Linked DNA regions of Homo sapiens: all the other regions are linked to region 3. Evidence: promoter capture Hi-C in human tissues and cell types (Jung and others, 2019). All regions are on one chromosome and are shown on one strand. The core of a region is centred on a gene start or on the middle of the fragment in contact, and the rest is flanking DNA. Distances in the headings are between cores, read along the strand shown.

Evidence for each region. The method cuts DNA at HindIII sites, captures the fragments that hold promoters and counts their contacts. A contact is called where the count stands out against the background at its distance.
Region 1: a contact is called between a fragment that was not itself captured here and the fragment with the promoter of ISL1 in region 3, in 3 of the 25 tissues and cell types used here (H1 embryonic stem cells, adrenal gland and hippocampus).
Region 2: a contact is called between a fragment that was not itself captured here and the fragment with the promoter of ISL1 in region 3, in 5 of the 25 tissues and cell types used here (adrenal gland, heart left ventricle, neural progenitor cells and 2 more).

Annotation. Positions count from the first base shown.
Region 1 is chr5:51,479,094-51,482,590 of GRCh38, reverse strand. No RefSeq gene overlaps it. Among named protein-coding and RNA genes, the nearest start is that of ISL1, 97 kb to the right of the region's middle. The HindIII fragment of the contact is 5,002 bases long and covers 1-3,497 here.
Region 2 is chr5:51,456,431-51,459,758 of GRCh38, reverse strand. No RefSeq gene overlaps it. Among named protein-coding and RNA genes, the nearest start is that of ISL1, 75 kb to the right of the region's middle. The HindIII fragment of the contact is 3,279 bases long and covers 196-3,328 here.
Region 3 is chr5:51,381,667-51,385,066 of GRCh38, reverse strand. ISL1 (ISL LIM homeobox 1) reads right to left here and starts at 1,619. Exons shown (of 6, transcript NM_002202.3): 1 at 1,368-1,619; 2 at 337-526. The coding sequence starts at 1,395. It overlaps ISL1-DT (ISL1 divergent transcript), which reads left to right and starts at 1,735. Exons shown (of 2, transcript NR_046243.1): 1 at 1,735-2,093. The HindIII fragment of the contact is 8,696 bases long and covers 1-3,385 here.

The sequences.
Region 1 (3,497 bases), core at 319-2,818, 98 kb before region 3:
CTTCGGGAATCCACATCAAGGAAAGATCTGTTTTCTTCTTAGGAAGGAGTGGCTGAAGCTTTGGGTATTTTTGTTTGTTTGTTTCCCATTTTGTTTTATAATTTTTTTTTATTTTACTTTAAGTTCTGGGATACATGTGCCGAACATGCAGTTTTGTTACATAGGTATACATGTGCCATGGTGGTTTGCTGCACCCATCAACCTGTCATGTAGGTTGTAAGCCCTGCATGTATTAGGTCTTTGTCCTAATGCTGTCCCTCCCCTTGCCCCCCATGCCCGGACAGGCCCCGGTGTGTGATGTTGCTCTCCCTGTGTCCATGTGTTCTCATTGTTCAACTCCCACTTTGCAGGGGCATGAATGAAGCTGGAAACCATCATCCTCATCAAAGTAGCACAGGAACAGAAAACCAAACACCGCTTTGGGTATATTTTTTAAGCAGCAACAAGAGATTCAATCACAAATGAGTGGGAGATGATGATTCCAAAGATAAAAGATAACCTAATGTTCAAACTCCCAGAAAGGGGTGAAATTCTGGGAGAATTAACTTTGTGAAGGAGGGGACAAAGGGGAGCAATATTTTGTTCTGAGTAGGATGAGATACTATTAACTTGGGAAAAGAAGTGAACAAGCATGGTTGTAAGACAGGGAATGCAAGATTTTTCTGTTAAATTAGGAATTGATAATGAAAAAGATAGAAAAAGAATTGACGATTTGAGAAAAGAAGATACAGTTTAAAATGACTTCTGCAGGTATATGGAAACTTGAATAAAAAATAAATGAGATAAATTAGTTTTTTAAATTAAGATTACTCTACAGTATCAAGGGTCCAACTTAGATCACACATTTACATTGAACTTAATCCACTTCTGTAATTTTCTCCAACTCTATCCAAATTGCTTGTGAGCGGAATTAGAGAAAATTGATCATTTGGTTGAGCTAGGTTTGGGGAATTAACTGACAAACTGAAATAAATGTGTCAGTTTGCTCGGGTTAGGAAATGGAAAATGATAAGGAAGATAGAGGTGAAATAACTGAGCATGGCATCCATTATAGTTTGCATATGAAGTGAAACAAGAAACGGACTTATAAAATCAAATTGGATTAAGAAACTGATGTTAAGTGTGAGGTCAAAAGCAATGTTTAGTAAACATGAGAGACAGAGAATGGTAGCAAGCTGTAGTGTCAAGAAAATTTCAAAATATTACAGATATCGAATACTTTGGGATGCTGATAAAGTCCATAAATTAAAAAGGAAAGTGGAATAATGAAAAGGAATTTGTAGAACAATCTCTTGAAAACATTGAAAGGCAGCCAAGAGAATCCTCATCCTGCCTGCTCTCTCAGGCTACAGAATAAAGGGTGAATGTTACCATTCTGGAATCAGACACAGCTAGGTTCAAATCATGACTGTTTCTCCTTATGTAGGTAACCATAGGCAAACTAGTTTTCTGTGCCTCACTTTTCTTATCTGTAAAACAGGAATGTGCCTGCTTCCTAAGTTTGCTGGGAAGATTACATGAGATAAAAGAGTTTAGTACAGTGTAAGCTGAGAGCAGGTGGTTCAGTTGGACTCTGGAGAAGCACTGCTTGTGTTTGAATCCCAGCTGTGCCACTTACTGGTTTTACAACCTTAGGCAAATATTAACCTCTCTATGCTTCAGTTTTCTTGCATGAAAATTGGGATAATAATAGTAACTAACTCATATGGTGGTTGTGAAGATTAAGTGAACCACATGAAATTGCTGCTCTTCAATCATTTTTGACCTGTAAGAATAGCAATTTTATGTAGTTCAACCTAATAATACATGCACATTGTTTAAGATAGAGCATGGCACATAGGAAGTCATCAACAAAAGTTATCATGAAAGGATAGCTACTACTACTATTACTACTAGTACTTGTACAACTAATAAAATAAAAATTCTTAATGTGGCAGAGTCATAAGAGTTTCAGAATTAACAATGAGAAGACAGATCTCAATTAAGGCAAGGCAGTGAAGAGAATATAATAAAAACCACCAGGAACCACATAAACACATTCCATTAAATTCTTTGTCAATACAATAATGTTCTACAATTCACACAGCCTGCCACTTTGTCTTGTTCAACTCAACATCCCTGCCTGCCTGGGTAACTGTAACTTTCCCCCAGTTTAATTATCTCCCTTCAGTTTGTTTTCTGTAATCCCTGTCACATAATTCTCTCAAATTTATCTTTCTAAAAGGCCAATTTTTGTGTCCCCTTTTATCCTTAGAAAAATGAATAAAATTCATGCTCCTCATGTTTGTCTTCAAGAGCTGACGTGATTTGGCCCAAAATTAGCCCCAAAGCCTGTATTCCCCATATACACCACCCAAGCCTACTGCTTCAGTTAAACCAGGCTACTCGTAGCTTTGCAAATATGATGTACATTCCCACCTTGTCCCCATCTGACTGAAATATATTTCCAGGCTCTTGGTTAGTGCCTATTCATAACCTCAAATTCCATTTCAATTTCCCATTGACTAGTAGACTATTGAAATTTCAGTTCCCCATTTTACTCATATCTCTCTCACATCTGAGCTGCCCAAGTGCTGTGCAAAGATCTGTAACACTACTTTCATTTGTATTTGTGTGTGTAGGTGTGTATTCTATTTTCTCATGAGTCTTCAGGCACCCTTAAAACAGAAAGCATATTTGAAACCTCTTTGTATTCCTCATTGAACAACCACAGTTGACTTGTATTACATTATTATAACATTTATAGATGTTTACAACAATTTTAGAGTGACAAATATTGGGAGAACTGAAAACTAAGAAGATAAATTTTTGATACTCCCATAAGTGAAATACATATTCTCAATTCAGATGTGAAAATTGTTCATACAGCAAAATTTAGAAGAAAACAAAGAAAAGTTTACTTCCTACCATTCTTAGATCTACACTAGTGTAAAGCCTGTTAGATTGTCCTTACAGATAGACGAGAATCCAAAGAACAGAATCCAAAGGACCTTAATAAATTCTATTACCTAGAGTATAAATAAATTTTATTATTTCGAATGTAAATAGAAGCTTATATTCTATTACTTAGAATATAAATAAATTATTTAAAATATGGATAGAACCTTATATTCTATTATTACTTAGAATATAAGGCTACGCGTCTATAATTGACTGTGGAGGAAACATCTTAGAAAGCATGTAGATTTTTTTCTAATGAGCCCTGTGGTTAAGTTTGGAAATACTTTAGCTATATGCAAAATCAATGGGAAATTACCTCACTGGAATTTTTTAAAATTTATATGACTACAACTTTAAGAATGATTCCTAAAATTTCAAGATAAATAAAATTTTATTGCTTAAATCTTCTATTTTGAAAATGGGGCCCACTAAGATTAAGTCTCAAGTTCAAAGTTAAGGCATAGACTTCCAACTCTTTATTCTATAATAGTAATTTTGTAAGTCTAAAAATTGGTGAATTACTACATAAGCATTGTGTGTTCACATATAAAGTGAAA
Region 2 (3,328 bases), core at 586-3,085, 74 kb before region 3:
ACTGAAGTAGAGAACTATCTGGTGAAGCTTCCCATGATCCAAAAGTTGTTCCATTGACTACTTTTTGAATCTCCTAATTTTCTGTAATTAGGCTCTTTTTGAAGGAAATAAATTCCCCTTTTATTAAACCTTAACTCCAATATTATATCAAAATGTTTATTTCTAAGCTCCCCATGAAATATGTGTAAATGTTCAAGGTCATATAAAATTATCAAAATTATTTTCTGCAAAACAACTAGTTGACTGTACAAAAATAAAAAATGCTGTTCTTTCTCTGTCTCCCACACTAACATTCTTCATAGTGTTTAACACTCTATCAGTTGGAAGTTGAAGCATTCTGGAATTCAGTGTAAGTGCTTGAAGCTTCTTCAGAAAAAAAATAATAGAAATACATTTCAATTGTTATGATTTGCTAGAATACATCTTTCCTCCCCTGAGGGCTTAATGAATGCTGAAACTTTTTCCCTGATTTTTAAAAATCCATTGACAGCGTTCCTAATGTTCCCTAATCAGCTTTAATTTCTTAGTGATTTTAGTTGATAAGAGTTACTGTATTTGGCAAAGATAAAAAAGAATCAATTAGGAGGTATTTTTTCTTCCTTTCTTTCACTGGATCTTAAAAATATAAGGCATCAAGAGTGATAATGTACTAAATTCCAATAGCTTTTGATATTCACCATCAAATTGTTCATCAGAGAGAAATACTAAAAAGGAAAGAATAAAAAGTCTAGATTTTAATCATATTAAAACCTTATGATTTATTCCGTTTTGTTATGTAGATAGTAACCAGAAATGTTCCACATGCGGTGAGGCTAGCTGAGGCCCTGAACACACTTTGCCATGTCATTTGCTCTAGGAATCCTAGGACATTCCTGTCTTTCTGTGTAAGTGGCTAAAACAGATGAAACTGTGTCTATTTCACCTGAGAAAATAACCTTCAAATGAGACTGTTTGCCCCAGAAAGAGTGAACAACTGGGGATCTGAAACACAATGTTCCACCCATAGGCAGCCATTCCTTGCACTACCCAGCTGCTCTGGCCATTTCTGAACAATGTGCCATGGAAACACATGTAACTGATCTTAATGGTAAATGAGAAATGCGCCATTCTCCTGCGTGAAGAAGTTAAGGGGACCCAATAAATTCATTTATAATGTGTTTCTGTCCAGATGAAAACCAAGATGTCATAACACAGTGGATCAATGTTATTTGGAAAAATTTTCTCAGATAACTAAAGTTGGCTAAGCTATATCTGATTTCAGATGATCTTAGGCAGATTTCCAAGAGAAAAAAAAATCTCAAGTAGTATCTGCTTCAGAGCCAAAGAGCTACTGCTACTGCACTGTATCAAAGATACCATGTTTGAATTCTGGATCTGCCATTAATTTACTCAGCAAATACTTACTGAAAGCCTACTACCTTCCAGGCATTGTAGTTAGCACTGGCTAAAGGACAGTGAATGAAACAGTGATTGTTCTGTCCTGTGGGTTTTAGAGTCTATAAAAAGGCCAGATAAACCAATAGGCAATTATAATACAGGATGATTAAAAACCATGACAGGGAAGTGTAGACTATGGAAACTCCTGAAAAAAATACAGTAATAGTTTCTGCTTCTGTAACTAATTGCCATGTAGAACAATAAAAATTTTTGCATCTCAATCTGAGAAAAAAAAAAAAACAGAAAAAACACAAATTTATTATATTAGAGTTCTGAAGGTCAAAAGTCATAAGTCCCACTGGGATAAAATCACATTTCAGTAGGACTGTGTTCCTGCTGGAGTCTCTAGGGGAGAATCTGTCCATTTCCTTGTCTTTTTCAGCTTCTAGAGGCCACTTGCATTCCTTAGCTTGTGGTCCCTTCCTGTCTTCGAAGCCAGCAATGGCCAGTGGAATTTTCCCTGACACTGACCGTCCTGCCTCCCTATTTCACCCATAAGGACCCTTATGATTACATTGGGCCCACCTAGATAGTCCAGAATCGTCCTCCATCTCAGGGTCACCTGATTCACAATGTCAATTCCATATACAACCTTAATTCTTCCTGGCCATGTAACCTAACATATTCACAGGTTCCAGGAATTAGAATGTAGACGTCTTTGAGGGCCATTATTCTACCTAAGTACCTACCTAGACTGGGGGTAAGAAAGACAAAAAGTGAGGAGAGGCTTCTCAGAGGAATTGAAATGTAAAATAAAGCTTGAAGGGTAAGCAGAGTTTAGGTAGATAAAGGGAGGACTTAGCAGTGTAAGAGTGGGTTGCTCCTTTCTGACTGTAGGAACAGCATGTGTGAGGCCCTAGGAGTGAAATAGACCATGGCCCATAGGAAGATGTAAGAAAAAAAATCGAGAATGGCTGGAGCAGAGATTATGAGGATAAGAAGACGGTGACAAAAGAAAAACCCAAATGATTAAGACCTTAGAAAAAAAATAGTAAAAGTTTAGGAGTATGTTATCTGAATCTCAACAGGTAGAGAATAGCATGAAGGTATAGAGAGGAGATGAAGAGTGCTTGACAGTTTTGAGCAACGTGGATAGGTCAACAGAGGGGAAGCATTGCTACCCTAAATTTGGAGGGGCAGTGGAGGGAGGGAGGCAGTAAACAAAACAGAAAAGGGAAACTTTGTCATAGAAGCCTTAAGTAGAGGTACACAGACAATCCTTGGCAACCCTGCCTGGAGTTGCCACAGCAACCTGATACCCTGCTTTCAAAATGAATAAATTAAGATTTTGATGAATGTTCGAAGGAGACGTACAGAATGCCAACAGAGACACATAGAAGCCCCAAACTTAAGAAACCCTTAAGCTGAGATCTGGAACATAACTAAGACATCACTACATGAGCAGGGAGGATCTTTGAGGCAGAGATATAACAGTCACAGAGAACCAGTGGTAGCAAGGAACATGCTCTGTTCCAGAAGCCAAAAGTCTCTGCACCTTGAGAGAAAGTAGAGAAAAGAGAGTCCTGCAAGTTAAGCCTAGTGCAAGGCAGGTGGTGGGGCGGGGGCCAGGGGTTCATAGAGCTCTGTCGGATCTGTTAGGGATTTGAAACTTTGTCCTGAGACCAGTGAGATGTTACTCATAGCTTAACCAAAAGAACAGCATGATGAAATTATCCCTTTAAAAGATGATTTGGCAGCAGTGCGGAGAATGTACTGAAGAGGGTAAAAAATAATGTGCCTACAAGACAGCACAGAGGCTTCCTTGGAGAGAAATGCCCCTATACATCACAAAAAGAGCAATGGCAACTGGAAGGAAAAACTACAGTTGATTCTGCCTTCCAGAGAAGGGATATAATTCATCCCTAAAAAGATGGCTCTTTTTTTTTTTAGA
Region 3 (3,400 bases), core at 370-2,869:
AATCCAAACTTCTCCATCTTTTTAAAATTTTGTTTTGTAAGGGGGAGGGTGAAAGAGGAAAATAATTTGTGCATCATAAACTCCAAGAGTAATTAAACAAGCCTCAATACCCCGGAATTATGAATACCACTGTTAAGGGTTTTTGTTTTTCTCAACTAAAGAATGAAATGAACAGCATAGCTTGATTTTTTTAACACATGTACAGGGTAACTTTGGCTTGTATGACTACACTGAGGCAAACTTCACAAAAAGACAAAGCCACACCAAATAATACATAAAGAGTGGGGAGATTCAGGGAAATCCCACAAAATTAAGAAAGAAGTGTAAATGCCATACCTGATATAATCTCTTTTACAGTAGGTTTTCCCATCCCTAACAAAGCATGTACAGCTCTCGTCCAAATACTGATTACACTCCGCACATTTCAAACATGCCGCATGCCATTCCAAATCCGGAGAAACCCTCAGAATATACTGATCGTGAATCTGATTGCCGCAACCAACACATAGGGAAATCAGACGTTTTTCTGAAATGAAAATAAATACATGATTGACTAACCGTTTACTTCCTACAGAGATAAACACACTTTTAGTGTCGTTCTCTTATAGGGCGTACTCTGGGAGGTTTTTTTCTTTCTTTCTTTCTTTCTTTTTTTTTTTTTTTAGAGCATTGCACTTTGGGATGGTAATTGAAATGTGCCATCAAAACCTTGACTCATTTTTAAAAGGAGGTGGAATATATGTAAAATGCAGATTGGAATAGTCTACATTTGTACGCCTAGCACGCAATCAAACCCGCTCATTTTGTATTTCTCCCCCCCCCCTTCCTCTTTGCTATAATCATTGGGAAAGATTATGGATAAGTCAAGTCAAAGAAAAGGTTTTGACTAGAAGCGTTAAGTGAACGCAGGGATGTCTATATTTTCCGTGAAGCGCGCTCTTAAATAGCACACAGGACTGGATATTGTTAGCAAGAGCAGGCATAAATACAGTTGTCACTCGTTCTCTTTTGCAAGTCTAATGCTAATTCACATCTCTGGGCATTGACTGTGCAGGCAGACCTTTGCAACATAATAACCTTCTCGGAGAGCTCAGGATTCCCCAGGAGGAAATCACCGCTTAGCACCAGAAAGCTAGAGCTTTGGAGGGCACACAGGCGAATTCACACACAAGGTACAATCAGTTTCCCGAAGATAAGAACCGACAGTAAGCATGCAGGCGTGGCGGCAACAAGAAAAAGCCACCTTTTCTCTTTCTCCAGGCAATGACTCCAACTCCAAAGAGCCCTTGGCACCTCAGCCTGTGCCTGAGAGAGAACCCCGCACAAGAACAGCACACCGAGCCCCACAAGGTAAAATAGCCTCTTACTTTTTGGTGGATCTCCCATGTCTCCCATATCTGTAAGAGGGAGTAATGTCCACAGTGAAATGGTGGTTGTACAGTTGGTGAACAGCCCACAGAGAGGATGCTGGAGCTGTGGCTAAGTGGGAAATATTGGCCCCTGGGGTTGCCAATGCTGAAAGAGCCGCTGCTCGGCTGCGCCGCGCCCTCGCGGATCTAGGAGTCCAATTTAAGCCGGCGGAGTTGGCGGAGCGGAGGCGCTGCGGCGGCGGCAGACTCGGCGCGGCTCGGGCACCTCTCTTCCTTATCTCTTACTCAAACTTCTCTGCTCCAACTCAGCTCCATCGCCATTGGTCTGACGCAGCGCGCGGGGACGTCAGGCGAGCGCCGCGCCCATTGGCTGCAGGGCGCGCGGCGCAGCTGTTCTGATTATCATATTTCAGCCTCGCCGCCGCTGAGCGCCACTGACCGCTCGGCGAGCCAGCGGGAGAGGATTAGGGCTCCCGAGGCAACTTGCTCGGGGCTCAGGCCGTTCTCCCCCGAAGCTCGGGCTGCCGGGCTGTTCTGGCTCTGGCCTCCCTCTCCTCCTCTTCCTCTTCCTTCTGTCCCCTCCCGCGTTCCTTCCCGGCCGCGCCGCCTGCGCCCTCGCCTCCTGTGGCGCTGCTCCTCCGCCCTGCGCTCCTGGGGTCCCCGCAGTCCGGCTGGCCGCGTTGCGCGCGGGGCTCACTTTCTGCCGCCGGTGGCGAGTGGCTGGTGGGTAGGTCTACCTGTTGACGAGGTCCCTCCCGGGCTCTAGGAAAAGGGGGGAACTTGGAGCAGGCCGTTCAGCTTGGTTTGGTCCCCACGCCGTGGTGCACATCCCCGGGGCCTGGCCTGCCTTGGCTGCTCCGGAGGGCTAGTTCCTCCAGAACTGGCTGCGCTCGGCGCGCTAGGGGAAGAAGAATCGGGAATGGGATGATTAAACCCAGAGGAACTGTTTCCTGACTGCTACACCATTACTCCGTCTCCCCCAACCTCAGATATCTAAAAACGTTGGGTGGGAGGAAAGGGGCGCTTCTTGCTGTTGGGACAATCAGGTTGGAACGCACCGGTAAACCGAAGTTGACTCCGCGGACTGACTTTTTGTCTTTCAGACCCGCGAGGTCTGCTTCTCAGTTTAACTCTAGAATTGAAGCTCACTAACCCGAAGCCAAAGAGCGAAATGATCTTTCAGTAGTCTAAAGTTTGTAAGATTTTTATATACTGTTCAATTCTTCTCACTGCTGGTCTCCTGCCCTTTGTTTTTAAGCAAACTTGTGCAACTAGCTGTGGTATTTTGGTAATTATAAGGACAAGTCTCCATGACTTTGTGGAGATTTTTTAAAAATGCATTAGTCTAAGGGCGCGAGTAGGGAGGGATTTATTACAGAACAGTGAAAGACCTATTTCACGTCCCCAGGCGTTAATATATAATTTTCTCTCGAGAAACTACTTGGAGAGAGAAGACTGTTAGGTGCAACTCGCCGGTAACCTTCTTCAATCATTCTTACATGTTCCCATCATCTGTTACGGTCTCCCAAAGACAGTCACAGGAAGGCCACGAAGAACCCCCGCGCTTCCCCCAAAGCTTCTAAAAAGCCATTTCTTATCTAATGGGGCTGCCAGTTTTATCTAAAAAGTCCTACAGACACAAACCATAGAAGGCTTAATTTCGGTGTCTTGTTGCTGTGAGAAGACCCGGTGTGTTAGGAAACTCCTTTCTTTATATCTTTCGCAAAATCTAACCCTTGATAAGAGCTGTAAATCCTGGCCGGCCGCATTGGCTGGGCTTGAACGGGTAATGCCTCTCCAAAGCGGAAAGGGAATCAAAGATGCGTAAGTTTCCTCCTGACCTAGCTGAGGCTTTCTTCCCCAGGAACTAGTTTTGATTTGTTTTTTCTCAAGGAGGATTTCAAATTGGATCTGTCTTCCCTTCCATTTTTATTATAAGTTGTTTTAGAGCGCGTGTATGAAAGCGAAAGTTGGATAGACCTAGGTTGATAAGTTTACCAGTTGTGTGGTGTGTGTTTTTTTTTTTTTTT